2 separate regions of the Homo sapiens genome follow, and region 2 is linked to region 1. Evidence: promoter capture Hi-C in human tissues and cell types (Jung and others, 2019). All regions are on one chromosome and are shown on one strand. The core of a region is centred on a gene start or on the middle of the fragment in contact, and the rest is flanking DNA. Distances in the headings are between cores, read along the strand shown.

Region 1 (5,170 bases), core at 2,624-5,123:
CCAACCTTCTGTTGACTCCTGTAGCATCCTAAGGCCCCTGCTACTGGGAAGAGATGCTTTGGAAGGAAGAACCTCCACTCTAAGTATAAATGGGCACTGTGGTGGAGCTGCCTAACAACACTCCCTGATGTTCTGCGTGCTAATCAATCTGAAGCCCCATCAGAACGCAGGACCAAGGCCTGCCCAGGCTCTAGACAACATCTCCACGTTGTTGTTCCAGAACTACAACAGTATTCAAGCTGGATGCCAAATGTCAGGAAAAATCCCTTTGAGAACCAAAGCCTCCCCACCAAACCTCACATTCCACCCAATCACACAACATACCCGAGAGTACTGCAGCTTGTCCACAATGTCATCACTAATGAGGGGAATTAATCCTGTAAAAAACAGAAAAGCACTTTAAAGAAAACCAAACAGCCAAGCCAAAATGAGAACCCAGAAGCCTTCTGGGGGTGAGGCTGGAAGGAGGCCCCCTCCTGACACTAGGCACAATACCCTCCCTTTAACCTCCTAGTAAAAGGAGTACTCACCAAGCCTGTGAGCAATGAATTCATCATGAAGAACTGAGGAATTGGCATCAATCTGAACCCAGTCAATGGCTAAAAAATGAAAGAAGCAGACATGGAGTTTAGCCATCAAATTTACCTACAGACTTAATGCAGTGGTTCTCAAGATTTAGGAATCACCTGACACTAAACTGCAGATTGCTGGGCTGATTCCACAGCATTAGAGTGGGGCCCAGGTACTTGCATTTTAATAAGACCCACACACACCACACCTCACCTCCCTGCCCAGGTGAATTTAATGCAGGGGGCTCCCTGCTTCACAGAAAACACTGACTTATAGAATATCATAGAAGTGGAAACATGTTTATTTGAGCTGAGTATTTGCATGAGAAGCACTTAAATCTGCTACCTGTGCCACCACTAAATCCAAGAACATGAACTATTTGAGCACTTCAAAGTCAGGGAAACCCTCACAGAAGCAACACAGACTTATGGGGCCATACCTCATTTTAGGATATAATGACTGGACTGCCCAACTTAGCACTTTTTAAACACTCAATCAACAAATGTTTACTGAATTCTTTTAATGCGCAAAGTATACTAAATATAGAACCCAATCCCTAGCAGCAATGAGCTCGTAGGAGGGTAAAGACTGTATTATCGATCACACATGCTTGACTTAAACACACATTTATTCATTCATAAACATTTGCATGGAACCAACTAAATCCAGGAATCAAATGGCACTGGAGCCCAACTGCCAAACGAGGGACACAGACACTAGGAACAGCGGTCGGAAGAGGACCTCCCCCTGCCAGGCCTCCACCTGCTCTGTCCTGCTATGCTTCCCATTGCTTCCCCAGTCCAAGCCAACTGAGAGAACCCTGACCCAAGCTTTTCTGCCTCTTTAATCCCCCAGCCCTTCCCTCCAGCACACCCTTCCCCTCCTTGCTGTACAGGTTAAGATCCTCTGTGCCTCCTGAAAACTAAGCCTTGCCTGCTCTCTATGCTACAGATGTGACATTCCCTCCCTTTCAACTCCTCTCTCACAAAACTCTGTTCAGACTTCCCTCAAGACACTTGTCATAGTGTGCCTTGTGTCATATTTGTGTATGTTATGTCTATACCTCAAGCTTCAGAAATTCCTTCACGCAGGTCCTGGGATGTCTTTGTATTCCTAGCATGGGTGCTCAATATTATTTGTAGAACTGAATTTGTTGGGAAAGAGGCATTTAGACTCAGAATGGCAGGGCTGCATCATGAAGTACAACTCCCTCACCTGACTCCTGATGAAACTGAGGTCCAGAGGCATGAAGTGCTTAGGCAGGGGGAGGTCCAGCACTCCAAGCTGAATTTAAGAAGTGACTGGGGGGCGGGGGGGTGGGGTGGTGGTGGTAGTGGATAAACTACAATGTTCTCTTGCCTAATCATTTGGCCTGCTTATTTCCTTAAAAGTCTGAATATTTGATGCCACAGCTATGACTTATATTTATTTTGCCTAATCCAAACTCTCTGAGCTGACTCTCAGAAATGCTTGAAGTATTTCATACAAGTATAATCAATGCATTAAGCACCTGGAGCAGAGTGGCTGGAACCAGACCAGAAATTGATCTTCCCTCCTCTAAGAGCCAAGTGCACCACAGCTATGCTTCTCCTGAACTACTGATCAAAATCTACCTTGCTTTAGTGTTGTCTGTGGATTCATCTCTCCCCTACAACCTCACTGTGGACTCCATGAGGGCAAAAACCCTGTTCTCTACAGCTTTGCATTCCCAGAGCTTACCACCATGCCTGCCACTTTCATGCTCCATAAATGCTGTTGAAGGAATAGATTAATAAAAAAGCCATCTACCAGCACTGAGCACTCACTAAACACAAAGCACTTATATGGATTACCTCACTTAATCCTTAACATTACCCTGATAAGGATCATTAGTGGCCGAATGTTACAGATGAGGAAACTGCAGCACACAGAAGTTTAATAACTTGCCCAAGTTTCACAAAAGCAGTAAGTGATGCAGCCATAAGAACGAACGAAATCATGTCCTCTGCAGCAACATGGACGTGGCTGGAAGCCACTATCTTCTTTTTTATTTTCTTTTGTTTGAGAAGGAGTCTCACTCTATTGCCCAGGCCAGAGTGCAGTGGCATGATCTCGGCTCACTGCAACCTCCACCTTCTGGGTTCAATCAATTCTGCCTCAGCCTCCCCAGTAGCTGGGATTACAGGTGGGAGCCACCACACCTGGCTAATTTTTGCATTTTTAGTAGAGGCGGGCTTTCCCCATGTTGGCCAGGCTGGTCTCAAACTCCTGGCCTCAGGTGTTCCTCAGTCTTGGCCTCCCAAAGTGCTGGAATTACAGGCGCGAGCGCGGCCTGGAAGCCATTATCCTAAGAGAATTAACACAGGAACAGAAAACCAAACACCGCATGGGAGCTAAAACTGGGTACGCACGGACATAAAGATGACAATAAACACACTGGTGACTACTAGAGCTGGAAGGGAGGCAGTGGGGCTAGGGGTGAAAAACTACCTATTGCGTACTATGCTCACTACCTGGGTGAAAGGATCATTTATACCCCAAATCTCAGCATCACGCACTATACCCAGGCAACAAACCTGCACCAATGTACCCCTTGACTCCAAAATAAAAGTTGAAAACATTTTAAAAACTTTTGTAACAATAGTAGTGAAAACAGTATTTGAACCCAAGTCTGCACACTGCTAAACCCATGCTTCTCAGCAATGCATACCCAGGACAAGGGTGGACCTAAGTGGCCCGTGGGCGCCAGGGAGGCGGCCACTGAGCCAAGGGCACAGGGTATGGTCAAGTCTCCAGCAATGCACTTTTCTCAGCACTACCACCCTCAGCCCGAACCAAGGACTGGAAGGAGCCCCAAAGAGTGTGTGGGTGGAGAGCGGGGCAGGAACCCGTGGGCGCGGGAACGAGGAAGGGGAGTCGCTTACCTATTATGGGAACCTCAGCGATGAAGACCCTCCGAATCGAATTGGCCACCCTGAAAGATCAAAAGCCAAGGGGCGTGAAGGCGCTGCAGCCTCGACAGGCTGGGCCCGCGCCGCAGGCTCCCAAAGCTAAAGCCCTGGTGCAGGGGGGCAGCTCTGGAAGGACATCGCCCCCACCCCACCCCACTACACCCCCGCCCCCTGCCCCGGGGCCCCGGCTTGGGCCTCCCGGCGCCCCAGAGCCGCCAGCCTCTTCCCTCGGTAGCCTTACGCCAGGTCGGTGTTCTCGATGATGAACTTGACATTCTCGTCAGTGAGCTCCGTGATCCGCACGGTAGGCTGGTTGGCGTACGGCATCTCGCCCAGGGGCCACCAGCCTCCGCGTCTGCTCCGCGGTGACTGCGCGGCGCCACCGCCAACACCGGAAGTCAGTCAGCGAGGCCTCCGCGGCTTCCGCAAAGACGACTCACAGCGCCGCCTGCTGCTCGGAGGCCAGAACTGCCGAGCGTCTTCTGCGGCCTCCTGCTTTAAAATGTACCAGATTCAGCTATCTCGGAGGGTAGTTTGGCAAAACACGCATACGTCCTTCACTTAACAGTAACACTTCTAAGAATTCATACTGCAGAAACACTTGCAGTTGTAAACAAAGATACGAGTGCAGGGACGTTCGTGGTAGTACTGTTTGTACTGTCCATTGATAAGAGACCTGGTGGAGTATACACACATGGAATACTATGAAGCACTTAAAAAGAACTTGTACATCTATAGAAAAACAAAAGTATATTTTAATATGAATGTATATTTTAGCAAAGTATACCTGAATTATAAGTAAATACCCTTTCCCTTGCAGTCTCAAGTATGGACCATGCACTTCTGAAAACTTCAGGAAAAGATACAATGTTCTTTAACCTAATGCTTCCTCTACAGTCTGTGTAGCTGTGGTGGGTGAGTGGGAACTCTTTGTCTCTGCATCCCCAGTGCCTGGCAGTGGGCACCATGTGGGGTGCATGCTCAACAAAGAACTACTGAAGTCCCCTAAACAGACTGGAGAGAGGTTTAAATGGGCCTCAAAAAAAGTGGCTGCTGCTCCAACAGAGAAAAGCTCTAAAATAGAACGTGGCAGGAAATACATTTAAGAGTTGGGAGAAGAGTAACCAGATAAAGAGGAGTTTGCCTTTGCAAAGAGTGACACCTCTTCCTGAAACAGAGGGTGGGCACTGATGGAACCCTGCTCCATAACCTGTGTCATCTTGGTAAATTAAGAATTATGGTTGTCTGCTGAGTGTAAGATGGATGCTATGAAGGAAAAAGGAGAATGCAATGAAAACTGGAACAGCTACTGCGAAAACTTCACAGGATGTCAAGAGATACAAGGAATTGAGAGGTGCAAAAAAGATCCAGTGGAAGACCCACAAGAGATCTGAAATTCAATTAGTTGCTGACTTTCCCCCATTAATATTCAGCTGACAGGCAGAAGAGAGCAAAGCAGAAAACAGAGCTAACCAGACGTGCAAAGGGAACCCAGCCAGTGTAGAGGCTGAGAAAATTACTGGGGCTAAAGAATGTACCACTAAAATCGTCAGACAAGAGCAGCCAAGGGAGCTGATGGTCTGTGGGAAGGCTTCTGTTACCCGTATTTTACTGATGGGAAGACTTGAGCCCAGAGACGCAGAGGTACTATAATTACCACTATGTATTAG
Region 2 (5,170 bases), core at 1,464-3,963, 270 kb after region 1:
GGGTTTCACCATGTGGGCTAGGCTGGTCTCAAACTCCTGACCTCAAATGATCTGTCCACCTCGGCCTCCCAAAGTGCTGGGATTACAGGCGTGAGCCACCGCACCCGGCTGAAATGTGCAAATCTTAAGCACAGTAACGTGCTGAGTTTTATCAAATGCATATACCTGTGACTCAAACCCTATCAAGATAGAGAACATTATCTAGAAACATATTTGCTTAAAAAAATACAAAAATTAGCCAGGCACAGTGGCGTGTGCCTGTAATTCCAGCTACTTGGGAGGCTGAGGTGGGAAGATCACTTGAATCCAGAAGGTGGAGGTTGCAGTGAGCCGAGATCATCCCACTACCCTCAAGCCTGGGTGACAGAGCAAGACTCTGTCTCCAAAGAAAAAAAAAAAAAAGCCTGCAGAACACCCCAAAGACCACAATCTTCTTACTGAAGATTGTGTTTAAATAGGGAAAATCTCAAGTCAACAATACTGATTTGGTAATGCATGAAGATTACACTTGCCAGCTGAAACAGAAACTACCTAAAGATGTTTCAACAAGAGTGTTTCTGTCTTTAGACTCTAAAGCCTCTGGTATTTCATTGGGGAAGGTAAGAAGGGGGTAGATTGTGAAATATTTGGTTGGAATTTTACTTTTCCCACAAAAAGAAAGGTTGTCTTGATGAGGCGTTTTTACTTGCCTCCCAGATGTCCAAAGCTATCTAACCGTAGGTTTAGGTCACACAGAGTACCATTAACTCCTGAACTGTAACTGTCAAGAAGTCTGGGAAAAGCACTGGATGATTCTGACATTTCCCTTATGCACTGAGGATCTTTAAGAAAGCACACCTTTGAAAGTAGGTATTTTTTTCTGGTTGAAAGACTATCTGAGCAGGGCATGGTGGCTCACACCTGTAATCCCAACACTCTGGGAGGCCAAGGCAGGCAGACAGCTTGAGCCCAAGAATTTGAGACCAGCCTGGGCAACATGGCGAAACCCTGTTTCTACAAAAAATACACAAATTAGCCAGAGTGGCGGCTTGGACCCTATAGTCCAGCTACTGGGAAGGGCAGTGGGAGTGAGGGGTGGGAGGATCGCCTGAGCTGGGGAGGTCGAGGCTGCAGTAAACCATGATCGCACCACTGCACTTCAGCCTAGGAGACAGAGTGAGACCTTAAAAAAAAAAAAAAAAAAAAGAGTCTCTGGAAAAACCTTCCTCTAAAAAGTTGAGAGCTTTTTTAACCTAGTAGCAGTGCATCTGTGGTCAGAAAGAATTACAGAATATAGTCCTGACCTAAAATGGTACAAAGGAGAAAAGACAAATCCTTTCAGCATTCAAATAATTTACTAAAAAATAAAATTTAGGCCTAGGATAGAGTAAGGAATTTCCGGAAGCAAATAATAGTAAAAAAGGGGAAGTAAATAATCCCTGCCTGAAATCTTAAGGATTGAAAAATTTGCCTTGGACTCCCAAAAAATACTAAGGAAGAATTGAGGTAAATGCTTATGACGGTTGCAGTACAGGGAAGAAAAACAAATGTAATATTCCGTAGTACTTGTGGTTTTCCCCCCAGGAGGCCAAATAATAGGAGATCATGTGTTATTCAAATATACACAAATCTGAAGGAAAAGGATTTTTCTATTACAGAAAACTCTCTGCTCTTAAGAAAAGCAAATAAAATATATAAGCAGCATGAATATCAACATTTTCCTTAATGATGTCTACTTTAAATGATGTCTAAAACACTCATACTGCATACTCATTTGGATACTTATTAGACCCTAATATGTATTCAATAAATATCTTAGGTGAATTTATTCTAAAATCTGTAACATAAAGTCTCTCCAAAATATTTACCATTTTGAAAAACTGAGACAACACCATTCAATAACTATATATCCAATGCTTATATGGCAGGCAGTGAGGAAAGACGGAAAAAGGTCCCTCATGCTCCTGACAAAGGGAGCTGGGGTTAGGGACAAACTTAGCTCCCTACCCAAAGACTACAGATAAAGCATCTACTAGAAGGAGGCCTCTTGTTCCATCAGTTTTCCAGTGTAAAAGGAACTTTGGTAACACTGAAGTACCTCTGTGTGAGCAAGTTTTTAGGTGACTATACAAATCAGCAATAGCAAAAGGGGACTAGAGAATCTATCTTTGCATTGTAACACATTTATGTCTTACATTATAAGCCAAAATATTGTTGGTATAAATATTCCTGCCCACACAATGAAAAGTAAACAAAAAAACCTATAAATTAAATTGATAAAGATGAAGTTAAATAAAAATTCTAATAAAAAAAGAGGAATCATGATGAAAACTGACATTATTTTGAGACAATTCAGATGATGCACCCCAAACTAAGCATACTTCCTGAATACTGCAGGAATCCCCATTCTGCATATGACATGTGAGAAGCTTGTATTGGTGCCAGGTTTCCCAGGACAGACTTCCTGGGCGAAAAAAGTATTAAGAGACCACAGTAAACTCCAATATTGTTCTAGTTTTAGGTTATGAATACCATGTTTTAGTAATCCTTAGTAATTCACTTGGTAGGTTATTAATAAGTAGCCCTTAGGCATACCTAAGTATGAACAACTATGAAGCAATAAAAACTTAAAAAAACAAACAAACAGTGCTATATTTCCCATGTGGAGGGACTGGGCAGAAACCACATCTTGAGAATCACTGCATTAAGGGAACACAAGAGCGAAAACAATTCTTCAGGAGGTAGAGGGGTAAGAAAAAACTAACACTGAACATTAAACTATGAGGTAATATACTTGCTGAGTAAGGTATTTCAAACCTTCTATTTGAGGTACATAGGACCTATGAAATTACGCCTGGAAACTATAATTTCAAGCAACAAGAAAGCTATGTGCAGAGTTCATTCCTTAACAAATTTAAGGAGTACATAAATTCCTTACTATTTCAAATGTATTCTCAGTTTTCAAAAGCTCAGAAACAAAGCGGAATGTTCTCTAAGAGGCCACCACTATTTATAAGATAACTTTTCCTGATTTAACCTTGTATATACCACACATTTATCTAAAGTTACTACTTTTACATATTTAACCAGCAACCACTCCCTTTTGGAATGGACACATTTGTATGTTTTCTCTACTCACAAAGGTTGGCAAGAAAAGGATTTCAAAAGCTGACTTACTGAATGATAAACCAAAGGGAAATATTCACTCCTTTGCACTTCTAAAAGTTGTAAAAGTCCCCTCCAAAAGGCTGTTGCCCAAGTTACGGCATTTACTACTTCGTGATTATTCTGCTTTTCAATTTTCTAATTTGAATATCAGGGAAAAAACTACCCAAATTCAATGATAACTGCCTTGAAAATGCCAAAAGCTTGAAGAGAAGCTAAATCCATAGTTTATTATCCCCAAATAATTCTTTTGAAATAGATTGCTGGTTCCACTGTGTTTCCCATTTGTGGTGACTACTGACTTTCCACTTATTTTGCAATCCTGAGACTATCACACCCCACTTTACAAGTATCCTACTAAAAAATACAGAACATTTCCTATTTATTTATTTGAGACAGGGTGTTGCTCTGTCACCCAGGCTGGAATGCAGTGGCTCACTGCATCTTCAACCTCCCAGGCTCAAGAGATTCTACCACCTCAGCCTCCCAAGTAGCTGGGACTATCTGCATGTGCCACCACGCTGGGCTAATTTTTGTATTTTTTTGTAGAGATGGGGTTTTGCCATGTTGCCCAGGCTGGTCTTGAACTCCTGGGCTCAAGTGATCCTCCCGCCTTGGCCGCCCAAAGTGTTGTGATTATAGGTGTGAGCCACCATGCCCAGCCATAACTTCCAATCTTAAGTAGTGTAATAGTGATTACTACCTTCAAGAATTCCTAACATTTTCTCCAAACTATATAGAGTGTGAAAGAAAGCTGTATTTAAAAAGATGCAAAGGGATTTCCCACTTCATTAGAACAAATTACTTCATTGTTAAGGAAAGCATATACAATTCTCAACAGACTAAATTAAGCTCACGAGGCCAGGCATGGTGGCTCACACCTGTAATCCTAGCACCTTGGGAGGCCAAGGTGGGTGGATGGCTTGTGCCCAGGAGTTTGAGACCAGCCTGGGCAACATGGCGTAACCCTGTCTTAAAAAAAGTGCAAAAATTGGCCAGGTGTGGTGGCTCGCACCTGTAGTCCCAGTTACTTGGGAGGCTGATGTGGGAGGATCACCTGAGCCTGGGAGGTAGAGGCTTCTGTGAGCCGTGATTGCACCACTGCACTCTAGCCTGAGAGACAGCATGAGACCCTGTCTCAAAAAAAAAAAAAAAAGAAAAGAAAAGAAAAAGAAAAAACAGAAAAAAAGAAATACAGAATAATTGTTTGTTAAACTCTTGACAAAACACACTTTTTTTTTTTTTAGCCTCCAGGCCCCACAGTGCTACATAACTCAGATTTGTTGTTTTTACCTGATTCACTACAGATTAACACACTATTATACAAAATGCTAAGTTTTTATTTCCCTTTGATACTTACTAAATGAAAAGTTATTTTGCTGACAAAAGCAGAAGCCCACATAGAGTATGCTGGTATACCTCCTATAATCAATAACTTGAAAATAATCACTGAGGGCCAGGCACAGTAGCTCATGCCTGTAATCCCAGCACTTTGGGAGGCCAAGGTGGGCAGATCACTTTGAGCTCAGGAGTTCAAGACCAGCCTGACCAACACGGTGAAACTCCCTCTCTACTAAAAATACAAAAATTAGCCAGGCACGGGTGGTGCTTGCCTGTAATCCCAGTTACTTGGGAGGCTGAGGCAGAAGAATTGCTTGAACCCGGGAGGCAGAGGTTGCAGTGAGCTGAGATCGCGCCATTGCACTCCAGCCTGAGGAACAAGAGGGAATCTCGGTCTCAAAAAAAAAAAAAAAAAAAAGTCACTGAGTACAGAAAAAAGCATAACATAGAAAGACATTAAATAGTAGGTTAGGGCAACATGCATCCTGGGAGATCAAATAACTCACAATCACCAGTTATAGTTTTTAAAAAGATCCACAGAATATAGGATCACAAAAACAGAAAATTCAGAGCAGTACAAAAATTACTTCGAAAGGCAGACACAGTGGCTCACGCCTGTAATCCCGGCACTTTGGGAGGCCGAGGCAGGCGGATTACAGGACGTCGGGAGTTCGACACCAGCCTG

What was found. Contacts are between HindIII fragments. The study calls those that stand out against the background at their distance.
Region 2: a fragment that was not itself captured here is called in contact with the fragment with the promoter of POLR2C in region 1 in 1 of the 25 tissues and cell types used here (dorsolateral prefrontal cortex).

What each region holds. Positions count from the first base shown.
Region 1 is chr16:57,461,382-57,466,551 of GRCh38, reverse strand. It overlaps POLR2C (RNA polymerase II subunit C), which reads right to left and starts at 3,873. Exons shown (of 9, transcript NM_032940.3): 1 at 3,742-3,873; 2 at 3,474-3,523; 3 at 531-599; 4 at 325-377. The coding sequence starts at 3,827. RefSeq lists an enhancer at 3,721-4,015. The HindIII fragment of the contact is 18,274 bases long and covers 1-5,170 here.
Region 2 is chr16:57,188,724-57,193,893 of GRCh38, reverse strand. The region is part of intron 1 of RSPRY1 (ring finger and SPRY domain containing 1); the gene reads right to left. Among named protein-coding and RNA genes, the nearest start is that of RSPRY1, 5.0 kb to the right of the region's middle. The HindIII fragment of the contact is 4,068 bases long and covers 680-4,747 here.